2 separate regions of the Homo sapiens genome follow, and region 1 is linked to region 2. The links are contacts of gene promoters, found by promoter capture Hi-C in blood cells and fetal thymus (Javierre and others, 2016). All regions are on one chromosome and are shown on one strand. The core of a region is centred on a gene start or on the middle of the fragment in contact, and the rest is flanking DNA. Distances in the headings are between cores, read along the strand shown. Region 1 has its middle 6.4 kb from the start of S100A12. Region 2 holds the start of CRTC2 (CREB regulated transcription coactivator 2).

What was found. The method cuts DNA at HindIII sites, captures the fragments that hold promoters and counts their contacts. A CHiCAGO score of 5 or more calls a contact.
Region 1: a contact is called between a fragment that was not itself captured here and the fragment with the promoter of CRTC2 in region 2, in 1 of 17 cell types (neutrophils). The highest score is 5.3, in neutrophils.

The regions. Positions count from the first base shown.
Region 1 is chr1:153,366,309-153,372,188 of GRCh38, forward strand. No RefSeq gene overlaps it. Among named protein-coding and RNA genes, the nearest start is that of S100A12, 6.4 kb to the right of the region's middle. The HindIII fragment of the contact is 2,641 bases long and covers 942-3,582 here.
Region 2 is chr1:153,954,599-153,960,327 of GRCh38, forward strand. It overlaps CRTC2 (CREB regulated transcription coactivator 2), which reads right to left and starts at 4,014. Exons shown (of 14, transcript NM_181715.3): 1 at 3,747-4,014; 2 at 467-568; 3 at 275-391. The coding sequence starts at 3,899. SLC39A1 (solute carrier family 39 member 1) reads right to left here. Exons shown (of 4, transcript NM_001271958.2): 4 at 4,512-5,729. The coding sequence ends at 5,500. RefSeq lists enhancers at 3,094-3,143, 3,204-3,423, 3,434-3,483, 4,044-4,243 and a silencer at 3,644-3,793. The HindIII fragment of the contact is 11,751 bases long and covers 1-5,729 here.

The DNA of each region.
Region 1 (5,880 bases), core at 1,012-3,511, 590 kb before region 2:
ATCACAAGGGAAAATTGTTGAAGGTCTTGGGGAATCAAGTCTGGAAAAGGTAAGCAAGGGAGCCATGACAGCTGCCTTCAAATATCACCAGGGTCCAGGGAGAGGAGCCCACCCCCGGGGGCAAGGCCTCCAAACCCGCTGTGGTGTGGCTCATTTGCTGCCAGGCCCTCCCACTCTCCCAGCACTGCCTCAAGCATCGCCCTCGCATTCTACTCCAGGTGTTCATTCCCTCTGGTAGGAAACAGCTCCATGCAAAGAAGCCAACATTCATCAGCTATTCAGTCTGCAAATACTCATTGAGTGAGAACTAAATGCAGAGCACTGTTATAGGTGCTGGGTCAACAAAACTGCGTCTAGGGGAGAGTCAGACAAGAGGCAAGTCAAGAAATAGATAGCCCAGATCATTTTAGATGGTGATGAGTTGCACAAAGAAAATAAAGGGGACATGCTAACAGGACTGCTTTGTGGGCCGGCAGCCAGGCAAGGAAGCAACACTGGAAATGAGGCCTGGATGACAAGAAGCCATCTCAACGAAGATTTCACCCCAAACACATTGGAGAGCCTTTGGAGGGTTTTAATCAGGCAGGTGATGTGATATGATGTATCTGGAGGAGAATATTCGGCAGCTGTGTGGAGGGTAGCCTGGAGAACCCCAGAGTAGAAGCATGAGGACCAGTTAGGAGGCTGATGAGCCTGGTCTTATGTCAAATAGTGTGCTAGATTCCCTGCCTTCACAGAGCCCTCAGTCCAGTGGGGGCACAATTACCAGATATTTTCTCTATAATACAATGTTGTGGGCAAAAGACAAGCAAAGGCAGATGATAAGCACAAGATGCCCAGAGAGTACAGAAGGCACTTTTTGCCGTCTTATTGGCTGTGGTGTGGGGGAGGGGGTAGAGGGGAGCCGGGGGGCAGGGGTAGAGGGAAGGAGAGAGAAGGAAAGCTTGCTTGGACTAATGCCCAAGCTGAGTTTTCAGAGGGCAAGAATTGCACTTCCATGTGCCCAGTGCTGTGTTAGGCAATAAAAGAAATCAGAGAAACATAGGAAGTAAGGGCTCTTGCCCTCCAGATTTTTAGTTTGCTTTATCTTAAAACTTGAAAGGCTTCTTGTGTTGGCCAAGTCAAAATGATGAGACCTAGCCATTCTCACATCAGGGGCTTCTGATAGTCATTTTGTTGAGCCCAGATCCTTCTCCTGAGCTCCAAGAGCCTGATGCACAGGCTGGCATGGCTTGGCTTGTGGTGTACTGGAAGCCTGCCTGAAATATCCTCCTGAGGGCAAAGTATTGCACATATAGCACCCAAAAGAGTGTTATTGGTGTCCTTTATCACTCAGTAATGCCTTTGCCCAGACAGCTTTGTCAGGCTCATCATTCCAGCAGCAGCCAGTGAGCAGAAGAGGGAGGTCAGCCCCAAATTGGAAGGGGCCTAAAGTCTACTCTTGATGGAAATACATGAGGAAGATATGAACAGGTGAGCTCCCTGGAGGATGTGACGGTTGAGTCAGGCCATGGTGTATAAGCAGGTGTTCTAGAGCCAGAGAAGGGCCCAGGTAGCCTAGTGTCTGCAACAGAGCAGACACAAAAAAATGTTTGTGAATGAAGGGATGAAAAGGCACTTCAGACAAAGAGAACAAGAGGACAGCAGGAGCAAAACCCAAGAAGTTTCAAAGCCGTGGAGAAACTAGAGACTGTTCTAGAGTGGCTGGAGAATAGGGCCTCTGGGGGTGGACAGATGGTGACAGTGAGACAGGGCCTCCAGAAGCAACAGGGCCAATCCCTGGGCTCTGTGGATCTAACAGTGCTTGTGTTCATTTGCTTGTTCCACGACACCAGCCACAGTCACAGGGTCTAGTCTCTGTGTATTCATGAAGGGACTGGAGATCACTTGTGCAAACAGCACACTATATACATGAAAAAACTGAGGCTCAGAGAAGGGAAGCCATTCGCCCAAACTCACAGAGCCAAGCAGTTGAGCTGGGAGTCTAACCAAGCTCATTTGATTCCAAGTCAAGGGCCCTTGTCATTGTCCTTAGGTGCCGCTGACTGATGGATTTTGACCAAGGTTAGCAGCCCTTAAAATTTTTCTAGCCATGATTTAAGTTCAATTTGTGGTTCAGTGGGCTATTTGGAAACAAAATTACAGCTGGTGAATGTTTTCACAATAGCAAATGTGCTGGACTTTTGCTCTCATCGGTTAGTTGTTGGTTTTTTTGTTGTTTTTTTTTTTAACAGATTCTAATACTACTATATATATCAGAAGTGGTCCCAAATCAAGGTAAGTGCATCAAGGGAGTGGCCTAGTTTGCAGAACAGCTTGGTCTAGTTCAAAGGCCTTTAGAGGAAGATATTGCATAACTTCCCTTGGTTCCTTATCTTACACTGGTCAACTTTAACTATCCAAGCCACCCCTAAATATAACCTCAGTCTGCTTTGGTTTAAAATAATCTATACCTATTGTGCTGTGGCAGAGGGTGGGTCAGCTACAATCGTTACCTCCTGTCTAAATTATTATCTTACTGTTATTGCTAATGTTTGTTGAGTGCTTACTCTGCATCAGATACTGTGCCAAGTGCTTTCCATGTGCTATGAGATGACCTAATCTTGGCCAGTCGCATGGCTTACGCTTGTAATCCCAGCACTTTGGGAGGCCGAGGCAGGCAGATCACGAGGTCAGGAGATCGAGACCATCCTGGCTAACGCGGTGAAACCCCGTCTCTACTAAAAATACAAAAAAATTAGCCTGGTGTGGTGGCGGGCACCTGTAAACCCATCTACTCGGGAGGCTGAGACAGGAGAATGGCGTGAATCCGGGAGGCGGAGCTTGCAGTGAGCCAAGATCGCGCCACTGCACTCCAGCCTGGGAGACAGAGCAAGACTCCATCTCAAAAAATAAAAAAATAAAAAAAGGAAAAAAAGGAGATGACCTAATCCTCTCACCAACTCTGGGAGAGGGGTGCTGTGGTTATCCCCATGCTACTGATGGGGAAATTGAGGTTTAAAGATTCTAAGTAACTTGTTCAAGGTCTCACAGTTAGTAAGTGGCAATGCTAGGATTTGAATACAGAAGCATAACTTCTAGCCTCACACTCTCGACTGCTACTCTTTAGCACCAAGGGACATCCTCCTTCCTACCCTCTCACTAAGTGATGTTCTCCTTCTAGACCCTGCACCAAGTTCCCCTCTATCCAACTGAGGTCTCTCAGAGCACTAACACTGGGTGACACCTGAGTATTCACCTAGTCTAAAACTTTCCAAAATAGATGTTTAAAATTCCTTTGAATTCTTCAAAAATAAAGAAAACACAGACCCAGAGAGGCAAAGTGATTTGGCCAAGGTCATGCAGTGAGGGAAGGCTTTCCCCAAATGCTCTCACATTCTCATTCACATTTGGTGATAGAAGCCTTCCAGGCTTGGGCCATTCCAGGACTCCCTTCCCTGGGTCACACATTCCTTCCTTTTCTGCCAATCCCACTTCACCCCCATCTTCAGGCTCTCCCCTCAACCCCATCTACAGGCTTCTACTTTCTCGCACACTTTCCACACAACTGCAATTGTTTCCTTTGATGGGGGTGGTCAGCAAAGCTTCACCCCAAGACCATGTGCCCAGGACTCATCATTTGTCACTTGTCCTGAATCCCAGCTTCCCATACACTGTCTCCACATGGCTTCACAGTAAATAAGCCGAAAGTCAAACCCACTCTCCTGCAGTAAAAAGCCCCCTTTCCCACTTTTCCTCACATCTGTCTTGCCTGACCTCCAGCAGGGTATCTAACCTTTCTAAAATTCTTCAATTTTGCCACCTGGCCTGCCCCTGCTGCTGAAGAAGATCCAGAGGTGGAACAGGAATTAAAAGAAATTAAAGAATGTGTAAGCAGAAACTCAGTTGTATGTAAGAAAACCCAATTCCCCCTGAGAAGGAGAAAGAGCTGGAGTCCTTTAAAAATTAACTGCCTGTTTTTCTGTAGCTAGTGAGCCTTATCTTTCCTCCTTTCCCAGGCATTATGAAGACCTGTTTCTCTAGCTATGCAGCTGCAAGGTCACTAGACAAATAAACTCAAGTCATAAAACGTGTTTTTCCTTGAAAAGTAAGAAATGATGTAACGCATGTCTCAATTAATTGAAATCCAGTGTATTACAGTTCTAGTACATCTCACACATATGACCATGTTTCAAGTCCTCAGTAGTCATGTATAGATCGTGGCAACCATATTGGACCCTGAAGCCCTAGATCATTTCAGAAATGGAATGGGGCTGGACTAGGGTGGTGATAATGGTGGTGACAAGGGGTGGTCAGATTATCAATACATTTTGAAGGTGGAAATGACTTTCCAGTGACTTCTGCTGATTTCATAGTTCAGGGCTCAGTCCTTTGAATGTTAATCCAACTGGACCGGTTCACCTAAATAATTAATAAATATCCTCCTCAACCCCATTGGTCTCTCTTATTTTTTAAAATATCCCGCTACAGAGGGAGCAGCCACGGGAGGGTCTACCAGAGCCCAAGGCTCTGCCCCTGCTGCCTCTTCTGTGTGTATCTTGATGTTCCCACTAAACAGGGACTGGGGCTGACTTCTGATTTCATGCTCCCCATCAGTGCCAGACCTAACTTTAGTGGTTGGTTGGAGGAGTCAGGGGTTGGAGGACAGGGAGGTTTCCAGTGACTTCCGCTGATCAGATTGAATTGCACTTTTCACCAGGGCCCAACAGCTGTCCCTGAGGCCATGCTTCTTCATATTTTCCCTGGGGCCAGTTATAGAGAGTCAAGCCAACAGACTTATCAATTTCCACACATTTATTCATTTAAGAAATGTTTATCAAACATTGTCCTAGTGTCCTCATGCTACTATAACAAAATATAGAATGGATAATTTATAAACAACACAAATTTATTTCCCACAGTTCTGGAGGCTGAGAAGTCCAAGATCAAGGTGCTGGCAGGTTCAGGTGCCTGGTGAGGGCTGCTCTCTGCTTCCAAAATGGCGCCTTGTTGCTGCTTCCTCCAGAGAGGAGGAGCACTGTGTCCTCACATGGTGGAAGGTTTAAAAGGGGAAAACTTGCCTCCTCAAGCCCTTTCATAATGCATCAACCCATTCAAAAGGGTGGAGGCATCATGGCCTAATCACCTCCTAAACCCCAACCTCTTAATACTCACATTGGGGATTAAGTTTCAACATGAATCTCAACAGGAACACAAATATTCAACTCATAGCAAACAACCACCTCTTTCCAGGCACTGTGCTTGTGCTAGTGATTCACAGTGATTCAGCACCTGCTCTTTAACAACCTAGTCCATCAGAGAAGATGAATATTAAACAAATAATCATGGCCATGGATCCAGAATCACAAAAGAAGACAAGAGCACCAAAGGAGAGCAGCATGGTCCTACGGTACTGTTAAACAAAGAACCTGGCCTGGACTAGTGTGGAGAGTCTAGTCAGGGAAGTCTCCCCTGACCCTATGTTGGACAGGGCATAATACTCTTCTCCCTGGTCACTTGCTCCTTGTTCTTCCCAACTCCTTTCCATCCCTTTCCTTCTTTAAGAAAACTAAAGAGAGTGTTTCTCACTATCCCATGCCCACAGACATGCAAATTCTATATCATTTCCCCCCTTTCAAAGTTCTGCCCCAAATTTTATGACCATGTGTCCACTCTTTCAGGTAGCCTAACTGGCCCCAGTGCACCCCCAAAGCTGGGTCACTCTCTATTCTCCCACAACATCGTATACTTACTTCTGCCAAAACATATATGACATGGCATAGGGATTCCTCCCGATTCAGGCCTTCCGCAATCAGAGATGAACATTTAAGCCAAGGACTTCTTCTTTCATCTCTGTATCCCTAGCATCCAGACCAGTGTCTTAGGGGAAAACTTTTGGAG
Region 2 (5,729 bases), core at 2,764-5,263:
TAGCAGGAGACAAGGAAGGCTTGCCTCTGGCAGCAAGCTGATGTGAAGACAGCCAGAGCCAGCCAGAGACAGGGGGCACAGCCTCAGGAGCAAAACTCCTTGTCACAGGAGCAGGTGCTGACGCAGGGGCTATGGTCGCTTTTCAGGGAAGCTGGGTAAAGAAGAGCTCCAAGAGAAGGAAGGGACGCACAACACTTCAAGTGCTTCCTATGAGTCCCTGAGGAACCCCATCCCACTACCTTTCAGACACTCCCAAGTCCCCTGTGAAGGATATGTGGCGGGTGTATCGGCGAAGTGGGGACACCATTCTTCGAGGATCTCGCTGCACCCGTTCCACCAGCCCATGGTGCCGAGTGCTCCGAGATGAATCCAAAGGTGAGTGGAGGGGGCTCTGCCAAAAAGGACAGAAGTCAGCAGAGGAAGCAGCCTAAGAAACTCCACTCCTCCCTGGCTGGGGTCTACTCACCTGGAACTCGGCCAGGCCAGAGCCAATCTGGTTAACATTGGGCAGAGACCCACCATAATGAGAGCTCCTTGTGTATGCCAGTCGCAGTTTTTGGGCCTGTAACTGAGACATGGGGAACAAGTGGGAATGTCAGGAGGGTCCTGAGCACTATTTCCTTCAGCCATCCTTGCCATCTCTGTCACCAGGATATGCTGCTGCCGCCACTGCTTTTAAAATATCTAGGCCAGGCACAGTAGCTCACACCTGTAATCCCAGCACTTTGGGAGGCCGAGGCAGGCGGATCACAAGGTCAGGAGATCGACACCATCCTGGCTAACACCGTGAAACCCTGTCTCTACTAAAAATACAAAAAATTAGCCGGGCGTGGTGGCGGGCGCCTGTAGTCCCAGTTACTCGGGAGGCTGAGGCAGGAGAATGGCGTGAACCTGGGAGGTGGAGGTTGCAGTAAGCCGAGACTGTGCCACTGCACTGCAGCCTGGGCAACAGAGAGAGACTCTGTCTCAAAAAAAAAAAAAAAAAAAAAGGATCACTTCAGCCCAGGAAGTAGAGGCTGCAGTGAGACATGTTTATGTCACTCCACTCTAGCCGCCTGGGTGACAGACTGAGATCCTGTCTCCAAAAAAAAAAAAGTTAAAAAAAAAATAAAGAAATTATCTGCCAGAAAAAAAAGGCCAGTGTTGGGGTTTGAAAGGTCCACCGAGATTTGGTGCAAATAACCCACCAGAGCCCATCTGCAGACTGCCCTCATCAATGATATCACTACTGCTTGACATCATCCTGCCAGGCAGAGACAGATACTCTGCTGAGGGCCTGTCTCATTTGGCATCACTCTAAGCAGAGTCCCTGAGGGGCTGCCAGGAGCTCCCGGGCTACTCACAAGGGGGAGTGCCTATTAGGAACCTCTGCTTTCTTTCCAGATGCGTCCAGGACTAATTGAGAGATTAAGAGGAAGGCCACAGGTGGATGTCACAGAGCCATTACTGCCAGCCTCTTTCCTTCCCACTCTGGAGAGCACAGGCTTCTGGGCTCTGCCACTTGCCCAGCCTCAGGAAGGCTACACAAAGCCTGCACCTCCCAAACTAGAACATCCAAGGAATAGCAGCTCTCCTAGCTGGAAAAACAGCACCAAAACCAAGGGACATTCTTCCACTGAATCCTAAGGCTCTTGAATTGGCAGGGAAGCCTGGAGAAGGAGGGTGGACAGAGAGCAGCAGCCCACTCCAGCATGGGCCAGGGCCATCTTCCTGGTCTCATCCTCACTTTGGGGAGCTATGTCTGGCATAGGCGTAAGACAGCCTGGCATGGGTTTAGCCTGTGTACAGACATCCTGTCTCTGTGAGAGGTGAGCATCTATTTCCAAGGCTCAGCCCCTGCGACCAGCCAAATAAACAGGCCCAGGGCAAGGCCATGGGGAGGAGGGCAGCTGAGGAGGGGCAAGTTCTAAGAGCTTCCAGGGTCACACTCTTGTACAGAAGCCAACATCAGAACTGACATTCTGTTCCAGGAGGTCAGCCTAGTGAGCACTGTGCTGACCTCTGGACCACTTGAAGACCACTTGAGGTCTCATATATGGCAACCCCAGTATCTCAGTGGTATAGCCTCCCATGGCCATCTCTGTCTCAAATGAGCCCTCCCACCTGGCCAGATAACAGGCTGAGTCCCAGATCTCTTGTCCCTAGCTCTAGACTTTTGGGTCCCCTGGCCATGTATGCCCACTAGACTTTTCTGTGTAGCTGAGAAATTAACCAATAGGAGCAAGGTGGGTAGAAGGGGCCTTTTAAGAGATCGAGGCACCGTAAAGAGAAGCCCCAGCTTTTGAGTTTCGCACAGCCTTTCTTTGCACATACGAGCCCTAAGATCCCACCATGCCTCTGCTAGAATCACAGTCCTGAGGGCAGGGCCTCACGCTATCAAGATCAGCCTCCCATCTTCCTGTCTCTGTCCCCAACATGATGAAAAAGCTCCTAAAGGGGAGCAGTCTACAGTTAGATAATAATCCTCACAATGGTTACAGTGGGTTATGCACACACATGCATTTAAGTGTGCACATGCGTGCACAGACACCCTCCCAGATTTGCCTCCCCACCTAACTTCTGACTCCCACAAACTAGGGCACATAGTCCCTAGAGACTCAAAGGGGAAAGGACGAGAAAAAAAAAAAAGTAACAGAGTCAAGGGGGATACACACAAAAATACAACCAGAGTCACAGTCATAAATGCAACCACAGTCAGACCAGCAGAAAAAGGCTAGAGATGTTGTAGTAATGTTCCACCATCAATCCTTAAATTCCTTCTAGCTCTCTGCCATGAGGAATCATTGCAATATCCTTACCTACTGTTGTTTTAGAAGAATGTGTCCCTAAATTAAGACTGCATACCACCTAGGCGGACTCCTACCCCTTGGTCCCTCTGACCTCCAGCCTTGGAAAGCAAGAAACCAAGCCAGGGGGGCTTCAGAGGCAGCCTGGCAGAGGCCTGAAAGTTCTTTCAAGAACTCCTAGGAATGAATATTCTCAACACATAGAAGACCCTCCAAGGCACCCTACACACTAACCCACAAAGCAGCCAACTCCCTAGAAAGCTCAGCAAACCATAGAGTTCCACACAACTTATGGTCGGACGGTTACCCAGTTGTCGGATTCAAAACCCTACCTCTCCTCCAAGGAGGCCAGGACAAAACACCAAGCAATGGACCTCACCTTCATTCACGTCAGGAAACCACAAGAAGTATTTGAAAAAGGAAGCAAAAGGACGGGACGCAGGAGGGGACTTCCTGCCCCACTATACACAGCACCGCTCGTTCAAACCACTCAAGGGGCCCTTTCCCGGGGGCACCAAAGCGCAGAAGGCAGAGGGACCAGTTTGGAGGAGATCACAAACTCAGAGGAGCCAGGTTACAGACAAGCAGCCCTCCTCCCAGGCCATACCCCAATACCAGGCATGCTTCAGTAGCGTCCTCGAGGGGACTCCGTCAGGGATGCACAAGGACCACTCACCTCCTACCTCCGCCGGACTTCATCTCCCCTCTCCGCCCACTCCCACCTCACGTACTCGGCCCCCAGTCGCCTCTACACCCCGAACCTCTCCGGTGTTTCGGTCTCCCCCGGCAAAATCCTTCTTCCTGCCCCTCGGCCCTCAACCTGCGCCTCCCAAACGGCGGCGCCCGCGTCCCCTGCTCTGTTCCGCCTCCTTCGCTGCGGCGCCCGCCCCCGCCCCGCCTCTCCGGTCTCCGCTCCGTAACTGCTCAGCTCTGCTCCGGCTCCCCGGCGCGGCCCCTCACCCGGGTGGAGCCGATGTCCATCATCACCTCCTCGAAGGCCGCCGTCTCCTCGGCCTGACGCTGCTTCTGCAGCGCAATCTTCTCACTAAATTTGCGCGGATTGGAAGCCGAGGCCGTGGCCGAACCAGGCCCGTTCGCCCCCGACGTCGCCATCTTCCTTCCCCGTCCCTCCCTGCCACCCTCCCAGTACCAGCCGCGGCCTCCGCCGCGGCCTCGGCCCGGCTCCTCCAGCCGTAGCCACCGCCGCCTCAGCGAGCACCGCGAACCCGGCCCCAGCCTAGCCCTGACCTGTTGCGCGCGGGGGCCGCCGGGAATTGTAGTTTGTTTACGAGACTCCTTCACATCCCCAGTCACGCAGCACTAGGAGGAAACGGACTCCACTTCCCAGCAGCCCTGCTGACTCCGGAAACTGGGGACTTGGCTCCACCCTCTCGGCTACTCCCTGAGAGGTGCAAGCTGGGAAGAGTAGTTCTAAATTAGCCCTGAGACTACGAACGGAAAGGAGAGAGGGATTGAAGAGAGAAGAAAGGAAGAGGGAGGGGAGGGAAGAGAAGGGAAGCCGAGGGGTGGAGACCGGGAAAGAAGTACCAAGACACAAAGGAGGAAAAATTAGGTCATCTTCAGGGAAGGGGACTATCGGGTCCTGAGTGAAAACAGTGAGACCAAGAATCTTAAAACAGCTGTAAACATCTGGGACTCAGGCCCTCTCAGGCTGGCCACATGCCCACCCCTTTCCCAAAACAAACGAATCAGATACTGTACAGATGTCTAGAAACATCTTTTATTTGGGTAACAGGTCCCAAAACAGGTCAGTTAATAAAATAGATTCTAAAGAATATGTCCCTATGCACAGCCCTCCCTCCCCAAAAATAACGCTGGGGGTAGGCATTGCCCTTCCCCCTTGGGCTCCTCGGGTGTATTTAAAAAAATGTTTTGGCAGCTCAGTGTTTATCATCTGGGCATGGGACACCATGTCCATGTCCCCATATTCCTAGGGTACAGCAGCAGTAGATGGCTGCAACAACCTTCCTCCTACCCCAGCCCAGAAAATATTTCTGCCCCACCCCAGGATCCGGGACCAAAATAAAGAGCAAGCAGGCCCCCTTCACTGAGGTGCTGGGTAGGGCTCAGTGCCACATTACTGTGCTTTGAGAAAGAGGAAGGGGATTTGTTTGGCACTTTAAAAATAGAGGAGTAAGCAGGACTGGAGAGGCCAGAGAAGATACCAAAATTGGCAGGGAGAGACCATTTGGCGCCAGTCCCCTAGGAGATGGGAGGAGGGAGATAGGTATGAGGGTAGGCGCTAAGAAGAGTAGGAGGGGTCCACTCCAAGTGGCAGGGTGCTGAAATGGGCTAGGACCAACAGGACACTGACTCTAGGTTTATGACCTGTCCATACCCGTTCCACAGCAGCTGGGTACCCACCTCCAGCCTCCCATGTGAGCCTGTCCTTATGTATAGTGTCCAACCTCTGATTCTAGCAGTCAAGTGTCTTCCCCAATCCTAATGTCCCCTGATATGTCTCTAGCGACTTGACCATCTCTTGTTCCTTGGGACTGGGGCCAGCCTCTTGTCTGCCCACTTCCCTCTCATTAGTCAGATAGCCCCAAAGGCTCTATCTTTAGCTCCCAGAGAACTTTTTGGTCCTCAGTATTTCCCTTCCCCTTTCCTTCCTATTCCCCACAACTGGGGGAGGGAAGGGAGAACAGGGGCACCTGATCATCAATCTCCCCTGCCCCTCTCTTGAAGCCCCCTAGATTTGGATGAAGAGCAGGCCAGTGAGCAGGGCAAAGCCTGCTAGGAGCAGAATGACCTTGAGGATCCTTTGCTCAGAACTGGCCAGCTCCTGGGGCAGGATTTCCAGAAAGGTGATATAGAGAAAGGTGCCAGCTGCCATGCCCTCTAGCACAGACTGGGCCAGCTGGTGCAGAGGTCCTGCCGACTCTGCCAGAGCTGCACCCAGCCCGATGCCTAGAGGTGTCA